Linked DNA regions of Homo sapiens: region 1 is linked to region 2. Evidence: promoter capture Hi-C in 16 types of primary human blood cells and fetal thymus (Javierre and others, 2016). All regions are on one chromosome and are shown on one strand. Each heading gives the region's core, a stretch centred on a gene start or on the middle of the fragment in contact. The rest is flanking DNA. Distances are from core to core; before and after follow the strand shown. Region 1 overlaps PHF21A (PHD finger protein 21A). Region 2 holds the start of LINC02716 (long intergenic non-protein coding RNA 2716).

Evidence for each region. Contacts are between HindIII fragments. The CHiCAGO score rates a contact against its expected background, and 5 or more counts as called.
Region 1: a fragment that was not itself captured here is called in contact with the fragment with the promoter of LINC02716 in region 2 in 1 of 17 cell types (naive B cells); the score reaches 5.5 in naive B cells.

The regions. Positions count from the first base shown.
Region 1 is chr11:45,997,968-46,005,363 of GRCh38, forward strand. The region is part of intron 6 of PHF21A (PHD finger protein 21A); the gene reads right to left. Among named protein-coding and RNA genes, the nearest start is that of LARGE2, 79 kb to the left of the region's middle. RefSeq lists an enhancer at 2,754-3,376. The HindIII fragment of the contact is 4,227 bases long and covers 1,584-5,810 here.
Region 2 is chr11:45,766,439-45,773,765 of GRCh38, forward strand. It overlaps LINC02716 (long intergenic non-protein coding RNA 2716), which reads left to right and starts at 4,994. Exons shown (of 2, transcript NR_027134.1): 1 at 4,994-5,276; 2 at 5,555-5,920. RefSeq lists an enhancer at 4,686-5,187. The HindIII fragment of the contact is 20,811 bases long and covers 323-7,327 here.

The DNA of each region.
Region 1 (7,396 bases), core at 2,447-4,946, 230 kb after region 2:
ACACTGGGCTCGTAAGGAGGATGGCAGCACAGTTTTGCTCCTATCAAAACATTTCAGTACCATCAGTAGCAATCAGCCTGCTACCCAGGAATATACATGTACCACTGTGGAGAGAGGCTAAAAAGATTACTGAATCCCAGAGGACAAGAATATGAACTACAAATACAAACCATTCTAGTCGTCTTTGTTTTAAAGATTGGTAACTTACTCACAGCTAGGTTTCCATCTGTGTTATTAGCACACAAATTTAAAGCAGTTTAGAAAAGGTTCTCAGAACATCCTTTGAGTCATCCACAAATATCAATTTGCCTGCTGCTTTGCAAGCACTGTGCTAATCACTCTCTCATCTTAGATGTGAAAGGATGTTAGGGCCATGGATAGAGTGGTAGGCAGTATAAGGTTTGAAGACAATATTAAATGAATATGCCTACTGAGTATATAGTATTGTAACAGATGTAGTATATTAACAAGTTAAATTATTTAAGAAGTTTCCACATCTATTTTAGGAAACAGAAGATGTACATGCAAAATAACTCTACCATTTCTTTTTCTTTTTTTTTTTTAAACAGAGTTTTGCTCTTGTTGCCCAGGCTGGAGTGCAATTGCGTGATCTTGGCTCGGCGCAACCTCCACCTCCCAGGTTCAAGTGATTCTCCTGCCTCAGCCTCCCGAGTAGCTGGGATTACAGGTATGCGCCACCATGCCCAGCTAATTTTGTATTTTTAGTAGAGACGGGGTTTCTCCATGTTGGTCAGGCTGGTCTCGAACTTCGGACCTCAAGTCATCCACCTACCTCGGCTTCCCAAAGTGCTGGGATGCTGGGATTACAGGCATGAGCCACCACACCCGGCCTTTTTTTGTTTTTGTTTTTTTTTGAGACAGTCTCACTCTGTTGCCCAGGCTGGAGTGCAGTGGTGTGATCTCAGCTCACTGCGGCCTCTGACTCTTGGGTTCAAGCAATTCTCCTCCCTCAGCCTCCCTCCCGAATAGCTGGGATTACAGGCACCTGCCACCACGCCTGGCTAATTTTTATATTTTTTGCACAGACAGGGTTTCACCATGTTGGCCAGGCTGGTCTCAAACTCCTGAGCTCAAGTGATCTGCCCGCCTCAGCCTCCCAAAGTGCTGGGATTACAGGCGTGAGCCACTGTGCCCGGCCAGAACCCTACCATTTCTTACAGAGTATCAACAAAGAAAATTATTAGAAAATTTAAAAACTATGTAAACAGAGAAGAGAGCAGTAAATAGAGAAAACAGGACCACAAACAGAGGTCAAGATCAAACCTGGGAGAGTATATATTTTGTGCAATGCTAACTCAAGGAAACTTTTTTGAGATTAAAAATAAAACTTGGTCTATCAATAATAATTAAAAATTATTACTTTGCAGAAATGGAGTAAGGCAAGTTTCCCTGCTAGTGGTTGATTATAGGTCTCTAAACAGATAAACTAATATGTACCCAGTGAAATAGCACATAGTATATACTTCCACCAGGTTCTATTCTTTACATTTAGAAGACTGTTCCTTGAGACTAGAAAGTAGAATTATTCTACCTTGTTTCTAACAAATGTACTTCAAAATGCAAGCTTATTTTGAGAAGGGAAATTTAAAAATATATCTATAGAGGACAAAAAATGTATAATTTAGGAGGAGCTGAATATTTAATGGATTAGTGGGTTAGAAGAGGAAGAACAATGTCAATAACATGCAGAAATACATCTAAAAACACAGATTTGAAAGGACCAAATATTATGTTACTTATTTAGTGATGACAAAGCACAGAGATGATAAGGGACTGATACCTACATGAGAATTTATGTATCCCAGTGGGTGAGAAATTCATCATGTTTCATTTTGTTCAAGCACCTACTGCCTCCAGTATATAGAAACATCGTAACTTTTCTCTTGAGGATGAGGCATAGCAGTGGTGAACAGGAAGGCTTGTCTTATCCTCTGTGCTAAGAGAAAGTCGCAATATTCTGCAAGGCTGCAACATGACATTTACTAAACAACCAGCAACATCTCTAGTCTTTTTAAACAACATTGATAAGTAAAAATAATGATCTAGGGGAGATTCTAATTTTTCGATTGACTAGAGAGCTGAGGACAGTACATTAGCCCTTTTAACTGCTTGATAGGTGTAAGCAAAATAAGACAACACAATAGTACCAGTCAAATTGTTAGTGAAGGCAGCAAACTATAGAGAAGAAACCAACATATTTAGCACGAAGAAACTGCTACACTATTTCCCTCACTATGCTATGCAAACAAATTATTCACTTCTACACTATATGCCAAGGAATACAGTGTTATTTAGAAAATATATTCTCTCACCTCTAGCTGTAACAGAAGCTAAGCACTACTTCTTCATACTCTACTGAGAGTTGCAGGATCTCTCTCATCAAGATATGATAGTACTCATAGCACTTCTGAATTCACTGCTGAAAATGACCATTAGCTGCGATATGGGACTAAAGACAAGTACACAATTACCAGAAACTAGGTAACAGTCAAATGGTGAATAATTTTAAACAGCTTTAAAGACTCTATAACGTTTTTCTTTTGAAAAGTTGTAAAGACACTTAAAATTGACCAATGATCTGTCAAATTCAATTGTCTAATGATTTTAATCCAACCCCTCTGAAACATTCCTATTAAGATATAAATTTATGGCTGGGCATGGTGTCTCACGTCTGTAATCCCAGTACTTTGGGAGGCTGAGGCAGGCAGATCACCTGAGGTTTGGAGTTAGAGACCAGCCTGGCCAATAGGGTGAAACCCCATCTCTACTAAAAATACAAAAATTAGCCAGGTGTGGTGGTGGGTGCCTGTAATCCCAGCTACTTGGGAGGCTGAGGCAGGAGGATCGCTTGAACCCAGGAGATGGAGGTTGCAGTGAGCCAAGATCGCACCATTGCACTCCAGCCTGGGCAACAAAAGTGAACCTCCGTCTCAAAAAAATAAATAAATAAATAAATAAATAAATAAATTTATATGTCACTTTTTCATTGTTTCACGTTCAGAGGTCACTGTGTCATCTTCTATATTCAAAACCTATGTTAAAATAAGAATGTGACACTCTAAACTCTAAGTAATGCTACAGCAATAGCTCAACATATCTTAACCATAAAATCAGACATTTTGCTAACACAACTGAAATAATTCACTGGAACTTACTAACATAGCTGCTTCAGAAGCAGAAACATCACAGAAGTCTAAGAAGAAAAACTTAAAGCCATGTATGGTTCTGGTAGAGAATCTGAAGGGAATGTGGAAACTGAAAAACCATCAAGGTTAAGTCAAAGGTTCTGTGACCACCAGGGGGGCTGGAAATGGGGCTCTAAGATGTTCTGTCACCAGGTCCATTGACAGCACACTAGATATCACTGTTATCAACAAATTTCTATTCCGATAAAGTATTGCCATGTACTTAGCCAATGCACCTGTAGATTCTAATGAGATAAGCCCACATTGATATAACCTAGGAAATAAATAACAAGACTAACAATAGAAGCTCCAGTTGGTGTCTCCGTCACATGCACCACAGCATCAACAGACCACCTAATAACATAGGGAGGAAAACAAAAACACTGCTAGCTAACACTGAATTTTTGTATAAGAAAAGAACAGGAAAAGGATTAACTACATTCTTTTCCCCCATGCTTACATTTTTAAAATTCCATTAGTATCTTGCCAGATTTTCAAGAGAAAGGCTGTGTGCATCAGAGTTAACTGGTATGATAGGCCATGGGAGAATAAAACCAATAAGAAACCTTTCTGTTCTGCACTTCACAGGGCTGTCACTCGTACTAGAAAAACGTCACTTTGAAGCCCTGTTTGCATTCCATTTTTAACTAGAGGGAAGAGGATGGAGGTCTTTGGTTTCTATGACAACCCAGATGGGCCATAATACAAGATACTTACAAATGTTCAATTGCAGGGATGCCAAATCAAATTAAGGCAGAGTTAGCACTACTTCATAAAAACTAGATGGGGAGAAAACAAAATACTTATGGCAAGACGATGCCATTTCTAGAAGTGGTTCGGAAGGATTTCATGAGAAAATATAAAGAAAAGAGTGACTATTTTTAGTGAAAACAAAACAGTAAAACTAATATATAAAAATAAAGCTCCAATTTACATAAGTAAATGCTTTCATTAAAATTTAGACTACTGAAAAATTACTACTTCACTTAATGTTTTTAAACACTCCCTTACAAATAACATGATATTCATTAGTGATTTACATCATTATAATCTGGCACACTGGGCTAGGTTTTAATGGTGGGTTGAGCTCCTTTGGGCAACTTTTTCTTTTGCTCCATCCTCACCATTTGTTACTATATTTGGCCTTCATAACTAGAATGCATAGTCCTCAAAATATTTGTGGAATGGCTAATGCTTCAGAAATAAACTAATTTGTAACTTTACTACAATTTGTAAAATTTATTAACTTTCCAATAATAACCTACCATATCTCTTTCCATTTATAAATGATGATTTATTTGAGAACCACCCTCAGCAAATACTTCTGGGCTTTTGAAAGCACTATTTGGGGGAAAAAAAAAGGAATTCACACATGGCCTTTTTCATTTAAGGGCAGAAAGTGCTGTATATTCAAACTTCATAAGGGAACTTATTTACGTCACAGATATTACCATTAGATAAAGGGGATGTCATATACACCTTTAAGGGATATAATGAAGAACTTTGGACTCTGTCCCCGTAAAATGTCCTATGTGTGCAAACATATAAAACAATTTTGCACACATTTCAGGGAATTTAGAGGCACCCCCTCAAACCCCTCCACAGAACTAGTTTTATCTTTATTCAAAAGACCCTTCTTCCCCAAGGCCGAAATTTGTAATGAAAAAAAAAGTCTCTAGAACAAAGCAAAACAAAAAAACACCCAATGTATTTAACATTAAGTAGATCATTGATACCTTTTTACTTAAAACACAGCTCAAATTAAATGAATTCAAATAAAATGAATTAATTGGATAAATATCTGCTACAGAAATTTTTCTAAAGATTGAATACTATGATTTCTAACTGTTTTGGATTTGCAAAATCAGGTAAGTTTCTGTGACTTTCTCTTCTCCCCCAAATAGCACAAACCCATTTAAAATTATCTTGAGACATTCTGAGACTATAAAAACAGGAGTAGAATAATTTCCTCAATAGAATCTTTTTAAAGCTCAGATTATTTCTTGCTTTGAAAAGAAAATCTGTATATGAGAGTGCCACTAAAAAAAGTCCTAAAAACTTTGTGCATATAGTGTATGGAGGAAAGAGCTTGGGTTAAAGGCTAACATTCAAAAAAAAAAAAAAATGCCAAGTTTTCTTTTCACACCATCTATGTGTCTAGTCATCACTCAGACTCTCTTCGGTGTTAATACTGTTACAAAATGAGGATAATACCTATCCTCTCCCCCACTGCTAAAAGAAAAAAATATTTTATAAAACTAAAGAGTCATAAAATATTCAATATTCATAGTACTAATGACACTAAAACAAGAAATTGATAGCTTAAAAATGCTGATGAACTTGATTTTTAAAACACCATAAAGCTGCCCTGCTGCCCATAATGATGATGACATTTTCACGAAGGGCAGAGTGAGAAAACGCTACAATTCTCACTAGGATGATGACTAGTACTTATAGAAGATTAAAAATAAGAATGATATATTATGTAGAAGAGAAGTAAAGATGGAAGTATGAGTATGGCTCAGCACACTACAGAGCACATGAATTTTAATTTGAAAAGTACTGGCAAGGCCTTGCATGCAGGCCCACACAAGTGCTTTTAAAAGCTTCATTACACTCTGCAGACATTTGCCCTTCATCAATTGCTTCCTATGCCAGGATTTCCTTTTTGAGTGTTGCAACCTAATATTCTTCACCCAGGCAACCACAGCCTATTTTGGAAAGGTTCCCTATTTCAGAAGCTTCAGTGCTGTTTCCATTTGGAAATACATCTTTATGAAAATATGTATCATCCTCAGAACAAAAATGCTTCAATATATTAAGTTTCAGCTGTAAGTGATATTTTTAGAAAAGTGGTAATTTCAGAATCTCTGCTTCAAAATTACAGAGTTGGTTTTTTTAAACGGAGTCACAAAGTAGAAAATTAAAAAGATATACCAATGAATAAAATCCTGTCTCCCCTTTTTCTTATCCCATTTCATTTAAAAATGTTTAAATTTATTTTCCATAGATTCTTAAAATCATTGAATTATGCATACTGGTAAGAAATTTCATCCAATGTTCATCTTCATAAAAACCAAATAACTCAATGCAAAAGAGCTCTTAACAGTCAATTTTCTAAGAAATGGTCTGACATCACAGATGGTGTTTTCTATATAACAAAGTGAATCAATTTGAGATGTCTTGGACACTGTAAAAAACTTGTACTTTTGACCAAAGGAAATGGATTTCACTTTTAATAGATAAGAAATAAGAGACACTGGGGAGTAGGGAAGGGGTAGAGGAGAGAAGGAAGTCCTTGTTCTAAGATTATATTAAAAGCTACTTAAAACATGTAAGTGACAATATTTCATAAACTGAAATATTTTATCAGTAGCTATGACAGAATATTCTCTATTCTTTTCTTCAACATAAAAGTTTTAAAGAACTGTGCTCATTTGACCTCTTATCAAACAAAAACTCACTTTTCTTCATATTGGTTTGCATAGCACAGACTATTACTTTTTCATAGCACTTAACTTTTACTGTGGATGAGGGCTGTATCTGCCAGGCCTAGAATGCTTTCCATTGAACTGTCTCCTCAAGACTAAAGGACTCATCATCTAAAAGATGTCTTTGTAAAATACAGTTTATGCCTCCTGAAAATACCATCTCTCCCTCTCTCCCATTCACTACACACATACTTACATGTGTTCGAAATTTATTCCCCTTCTTTATCATGGCTACCCTCAAGAAAAAACACAGGGAAACAGATAAGCACTACACAACAAAGTTTACTTTTTCCCTTTACAATAATATTTGTCTCTTACTGCAAATGTCTCTGAATATGGAAAATGAGATTATGCAGTTAAATTTTAACACATGCATGTATACACCCAACTAATACAGCAGTCCCCCACATCAGTAATTTCACTTTCTGCAGGCTCAGTTACCAAGAGCAACCGCAGTCCAAAAATTCAGGTTGAGCATCTTTAATCTGAAAAATCTGAAATCCAAAATGCTCCAAAATCCAAAACTTTTTGAGCACTGACGTGATGCCACAACTGGAAAACTTCACACCTGACCTCAAGTGATAGATCATAGTCAACATGCAGTCAAAACTTTGTTTCATGTACAAAATGATGTAAAATATTGTATAAAATTTATACAAATTTATGCTTGGGACCAGAAGTGTTTCAGATTTTGAGATT
Region 2 (7,327 bases), core at 3,744-6,243:
GCAAGACTTCATCTAAAAAAAAAAAAAAGTGAGAGAATAAATGTTTGTTGCTTTAAGCCCCCACGTTTGTGATGCTGTTTTACAGCAGCAATAGGGAACTCCTGCGTCTTCCCAGCCAGCATCCCCAACACCTCTCCTCAGGCCAAGCCCTATTTCTCTTGAGGCTCTGTGCTGTTCAGTGACACTAACCTGCCCCCCAGCCAGCCAGCCTTGGCCCATCAGCACATTCTGTCTCCAGCCTCTGAGATTGGTGCAGGGACGGTATGTGACCTGACCTGAGGCCATGAGACCTGAGACATTTGCTGCCAGCTCCTGAGAAAGAAGCTTCCTCGCTTCCAGAACAAACACTCTCTCTCCTGTTAGACCCGAACAAGGACGCCATCGTGCTCCAATGAGGGTCTGAGAATACATGGATAAGCAGACTGTTTCTCCCACTATACACTCACAGTGGGCTTCTTACACCAGATGGGTGTTTGGGGAGGCGTTCCCACATAGTAAGCAAGCAATCAATTACGCAGCAGACACCAGTTCGGTGTCCTCTAATTCAGTTCACTTCCCCACCTGGAGATAGCGTCAGGTTCCACAGGCTAAGGACTCAGTCCCCAAGATGCTCCCCTTCTCCCGATGCCAATCACAAGTCCCAGAGTATTTTAGCTGTGCTTCTGACCAACTGACTATAATTGAGGTTCCCACAATCCCCTCATTGGTTGGATTAATTTGCTAGAGCAGCTCACAGAACTCAGGGAAACACGTTGACTCACTTATTATAAAGGATACCACAGAGGACACAGATGGGCAATGCATAGGGCAAGGTATGGGGGAGCAGAGCGCCATCCTCCAGGAGCCCCGTGTGTCCAGCTGTCCAGAAGCTCTCCAGACCCTGTCCTTCAGGGTTTTTATGGAGGCTTCATTACACAGGCGTGATTGATTAAGCCATCGGCCATTGGTGATCAACGTAACTTCCAGCCCCTCTCCCCTCTAAGAGAGAATGGGAGTGGGGCTGAAAGCCCCAGTCCTCTAATCCTGCCTTGAACTTTCTGGAGTAGCCCCCATCCTCAAGCTACCTAGGGGCTGCCAGCCAACTGTCAACTCATTAGCATACAAAAAGACACTTACCACTTTGGAGATTCCATAGATTTTAGGAGTAACATGCCAGGAAATGTGGACAACAACTCAATATGTATTTTACGATATCACAAAGGGGAGCCAGCCTCCAGATGAAACCAGCAAAATGGGACCCAGAGTGGAGAGACAAGGACACTGGTCCAGGGGCTACTGATTCAAGCCTCACCTGAAACCCACATCACCTCCAGACTTCTGAGCTATGTGAGCCGCTAATTCCTTCTTGGGTTTAAGCCAGCGAAGTTTCAGCTCTCTACTCCTTGAGACTGAAAGAGTTGACTAACTCCTGTGAGGCTGGATCCATGAAAACAAAGGCTGTCATCATGATCAGGGCTCTCATCCTATCTCAGCTCCATTTCCCTCTGGGTTGGTTTTGCCCTTAGGCAGGCCCTGCTTTCCTAGTGACAAGATAACACCTAAAATCCAAATTCAGCTTAGCAATCCCCCTGGAAAGAAAGTATGTCTTTTATACCAGTCAGGTGTCTGCTGCACCAATGCCATGCAACAAGCACTCTGAAAATCTCAGTTGCTTATAACAACCATTCCTTTCATACTCATGGGTCTGCAGGTTAGTTGGGGGGTTGTTAATATCAGAGTTAGGCTGGACTCCAGTCTCTGGTTAGGTTCAATTTGCCCCACAGTCTCCATCCTGGACTCCAGATGAAGGTGCCATGGTCGCCTGGGTGTACCTTCCTTTCTCATGGTGGGCAGGAGCTCTAGAGGGGCAAGCGGAAACACAAGATACTTCTTTAAGGCCTAGCTTGGAACCCACACATCATCACTTCTACCGACATTCCATTGACCAAAGCAAGTCAGTGGCTGAGCTCACCATGGATGGTGTGGGGAAGAATATTCACCCACAGTGAACCATGCAAGGGAGGGAGGGAATGAAGAAGCCTCAGCAAAACTCCATCAAACACGTCTTCCTCAACAGTGCCTCAAAGATCTTGGAACTGACTCATTGGCCTGGCCTGGGGTCAATGCCTGAGGGAGGTAGGAGTAAGGGTACAGCTAGGGGTCTCCCATATGGGAAGAAGGGTTATTTCCCAAATGGAAGTCAAGGTGTTGCTGACACAAGAAAGGGCAATGGATCCCACATAGGCAATGAATAAATAATTACATAAACCAGCACTCAGCAAACGGCAACGTGAAAATAAATCACCTGAGATGCTATTACAATGCAGATTCTGAGAGCCAGGCATGGTGGCTCCGACTGTAGTCCCAGCTACTAGGGAGGCTGAGGCTGGAGGATCTCTCAAGCCCAGGAGTTCGAGGCTGCAGCAAGCCACAATCGCACCACTGCACTCCAGCCTGGAAGACAGAGCAAAATCTCATCTCTTTAAAGAAAAAAAATTCATTTAATAAAAAATAATGCAGCTTCTGATTCAGTAGGTCCAGGGTGGGGCCTGAGATGCTGCATTTCTTTTTTTTTTTTTTTTTTTTTGAGACGGAGTCTTGCTCTGTCACGCAGGCTGGAGTACAGTGGCGTGATCTCGGCTCAGTGCAACCTCCGCCTCCCAGGTTCAGCAATTCTCCTACCTCAGCCTCCTGAGTAGCTGGGATTACAGGCACGCACCACCATGCCCAGCTAATTTTTAGAGACGGGGTTTCACCATGTTGGTCAGGCTGGTCTCAAACTCCTGATCTCATGATCCACACGCCTTGGCCTCCCAAAGTGCTGGGATTACAAGCGTGAGCCACCGAGCCCAGCTGAGATGCTGCACGTCTAAACAGTCCCAGATGATGCTAGCAAGGACCAGTAGCAATGAGCAAGACTGAAATTGGGAGAGTCTCTCAGCCTTCTGATGCCACATTCTCATTTACAAAATGATAATTCCACCTGCCACACAGACTTTTCTCAGCCAGGAAGATGGTGCCCTCGGGGGGATAAGGTGATGCGACATTTGTGCTGTCACTCACCTCCTGCCTGCCCCCTGCACCTCGAGGCCTCCCTCAGCCCCCAGGAAAGGACTCACAGCCCAGCCAGCAAGGAGACAGGAGGAAGATATCACAAAGTGAGTGCAGCTTCTGTTAACTGCCTTAAGCTGCTCCCTGCAATAATGTTGGTGTAATCCATAAGATTCAATTATGGTTATCAGACAATTAGGCACACCACAGCGAGGTTATTGCATAATTAATGCTCAGTCCCCATCTCAGCCTCTGAGAGTGACACAGGTTACAAGATTCACCTGCCCCGCATCTGGGAGAGGAGCAGGGGCACCCAGGATGGGGAATGACCTCCCTGTGGGCTCAGAGGAGGATGTTCTTAGGACCCCAGAGGCATGGCAAAGGGACAGTGTGTGGCTGAAAGAGCTTGAGTCAGTGTGTGCCCAGGGCCCTCACGCCTGCCATTGTGTTTAGGACTTGGGCTTTAATCTCTGGAGCGAGATTCAAATCCTGCCTCAACTACTGATTGGCTATATGGCATTAAGCACTCGCCTTACATTTTTAAAGCCTCCATCTCCTTGTCTTTTAAAGAAGGGAATTGATGATGTTATGAAAACTGGATGAGAGAGTTTGCATATTGGTTAGATGGTTCCTGCAGTACTATTTTCATTATTTCCCTCTCTGAGCCTCAGTGTCTTCATCTGTAAAATGGGAATAATTAGCCTCACCTTGCCTAGGCTTGAAAGATCAGCCGGTAGTTTGAGACCTGCCTGGGCAATATAGCAAGACCCTGTTCACCACAAAAAAGGAAAAAAAAAAGGATGAAAGATCAGTTTGTGAGTCAAGTAAGACACACATGTGAACGGGATGTGTGGAGTGCTTTGCTAACGCGCCATTGTCTTAGTTACTATGTGCCTGGTTTTCTGCTCAACCCTCCAGGGTACGACTTTGTACAAGTCCCCAGGTCTCAACAGGACAGTGGGTGATCAGCCCACCTGAGAAGTGAAACTCATGATTTGGGTGAGTAGACTAGAGGAGAATCACTTCTTTCTTTCTTTTTTTTTAGACGGAGTCTCGCTGTGTCACCCAGGGATCTCAGCTCACTGCAACCTCTGCCTCACCGGTTCCAGTGATTCTCCTGCCTCAGCCCCCCGAGTAGCTGGGATTACAGGCACACGCCACCACACCTGGCTAATTTGTTATTATTAGTAGAAACGGGGTTTCACCATGTTAGCCAGGCTGGTCTTGAACTCTTGACCTCAGACGATCCACCTGCCTCAGCCTCCCAAAGTGCTGGGATTACAGGCATGAGCCACCATGCCCGGCCTGAGAATCATTTCTTGAGCTATGATCTGTAACATTCAAATGAGCCTCAACGGACACAAAACAGAAAAATCATCAAAAATGTCGGTGAAAAGTTCAGGTGGGAGAACTCAGGTGATGGTGCAGACAGAAGCAAGTAGGGGAGAAAGCTGGCTTCAGGGAGAGTGGTTAGGCCTTTGTGAGAAAGACTGGGGACTTCTCATATCATCCTCTGTGTCCCAGTTCCCAAAACACACACGCACATGGGCACATGCATGCAGGCACACAAAAACAAGCCCATACACCAGACGAAAAAATACAGATGCAGGTACACACACATGGACATGGACATGTGTGTGCCTGTGCCCATATAAACAAACATTAGTGCACACACACACTCACACACACACAGGCTCGGGCAGTATGTGCTCACACACAACCATACACACAGATACGCACAGAGGTACATTCACACACAGACCAACACACACAGGCACACAGATGCATGCACGCATGCACGTGCGCGCACACACACACACACGTGCACCCACCCTCAGTGATAACCTTCCAATCCACTGGCCTCTCCGAAATTAGCACAGACCATTTTCCCACGACCCTTTCTCGCTGAGCGTGTGATTCCAAAACTGTCCACAAGAAGGTGCTCGGGAGCCAGAATTCAGGCGTTCCCGGCCCGCGGACGCTTAGAGAGGGGAGCTTCGGAGTTATGGGGGGACCCACCCTTCCATTTAATAACTGAGAAAGCCACGGGAGGGGACTTGCTGGGCTCACAGCCAGTGATCCCTGCCCTGTTTCCTTATGGGGACTGCGGTCAGAAATGGGGAGTGGGGCAGAAACTGTCACTGTCACGGTCCTGTTTAGAGAGGAAGGTCGGAGAAACCAGTGCCGTGGAAGGCTCTGGGGCGTTGACAGGCGCTGTCCCCAGCTCACCGGCTCTATGACCCTGGGTAAGTTACCTGGCTTCTCTGTTCCTCAGTTTTCTCGTCTTCCCTGACCCAGGCTTTCCCGACTCCTCTAGGGGCCCCTTCCCCTCTCCATGAACACCTTCAGATCTCGGACTGTTTTCTCCACTCAAGTGGCATCTCAGCTATCCCCTCCCGGGTTAGGCCTCCCTGGCCCCTATTTAACGGTGTCCCCACCCCCACCACTATCTTGTTTGTACCAACACTTGCTGCCTGACAATGCACACTTGTTCATTTGTTCACGTTTATTTTGTCTTCTCCAGAAGAATGGAAACTTCGTCAGAGCAGGGACGTGAGGGTGAACTGCTCACCCGGGCACCGCTGGCGACCGGAACCCAGCTCCCTCCGGGCTCCGGGAGAGGCGGCCTCAGCTGTGTGCTGGTGCTGCCCTCCAGCGGCGCTGGGTCCCCATGGCACCTGGCTTTCTCCTGCTCCCCAGGGGCCTTTTCTTCTCCCGCCCACCTGTCACCAGCCGCCAGGGCAAGTCTCTGTGTGACTCTAGGGTGAAGGTGGAGGGACCTTGCCTCCGAGGATTCATCCCACCCGGATTCCGATGAGTGAGGGACCCTCTCTGGCACCTGGTGTTTGAATGGCCAGCCTCACAGTTAATAAAGACAAGTTTGGTATCAGCTGTGGGATCCGTCCAGAAAAAGACACCTTTGGGGCAGAAATATAATGGTGCCTGTCTCGACATAGTCTAATAAGGAAAGAAAGACAAGCCAGTCCAACGGTCCCATTTTACACATGAGGTCACTTCATCCCCACCTAGGACAGGAGGGTACAACGGCCTGGCCTAAGATAACCCTAGAATATGGTCACTCATTCTTCCACCCACTGAGAACCTCAGGGCAGTAGAGTTTTATGCAAAGCATGTGGTCCTGAAAAACTTGCATAATTCAAAGCGTGCATAATTTCTGACTAATTTTGCCAGAGAAATGAATGCAAAGTAGAAAGGATAGGTTGCATACATTACTCCAATTGTGGCATATTTTTGCCTTAATGCTGCTTTTTATTTCCCTGGCATTATCGCTAATATTTCATAACGCACTCTCTGCTAAATTAACAGTGCAGCATTTCCTGCCGGTGGTTTGGCCTTCTTCATAACGTTTTATCACATCTCACTTCCTTTCCAATGTTATCGATTTTCAGGTGCGTTTTTCAGCACCACCACTTAAAGAACACTTGGATGACATTGTTACAGGATATGGGTAAAATATTTAAAGTTATAATAACTGTGAACATTGAGAAAATGGCACACCAGTCACCAGAATCTCCTGCAGAAATTAGAAATTCAGAGGCATGTAAACAACAGTGCATGCATATAGAAAGCAGGTATTTCTATTTAATAACCAAAGCAACGTCGCCATGTGGCAGGTTTACAGTCCTCATTTAACAGCTCACTTAGTTCCTCCGACTCAAGGAAACTGCAATTCTTGACAGGTTTTTTTTTAACTGAGGGGCTTGGCATTATTTCCAGCTTAGTGCATAAACATGTATTAGCATTTTTATATTGCACCTTGCCAAAGTCACAGTTTAGACTCCCATAAACAGTGACTTCACCCTAAATGGTCACCCTAAATGGTTAAGGCTGTGTCCTTAACCCCAGAAGGGTGGAAATGTATGACTCCACCTAGTCATCTCAGATACGGATTTCAGAAATCTCAGCCACCCACCTCATACTTACACAGGGACCTTTTTGGAGGCAGCATCATCTGAGGCCGCTCTTGCCCAATTTGGCTGGCCCCACCTCCTCCCCAACGTCATCTTCTCTTGCAGTCTAGAGAGGGGGGCTACTCCCCCAATATAGCATCCATATTTAGATCCATGTTGGAGGGTGGGTAGAAAGGGGAGGTAGGATGAGGGAAAATTGAGTCTCAGTTTCACACATTTGTAAGATCGTCAGACTTTCCACATTGCCAAGAAACTCGTCAGCACAACCGCTGTGAATTGGCTTCTTGGCCTTCGTCTGCCCAGAATTGCTTCCAGAATGGCTCCTTCAGCTTGGCCTGAGCTTGGCCCCAGAAAGAGTGCCACGG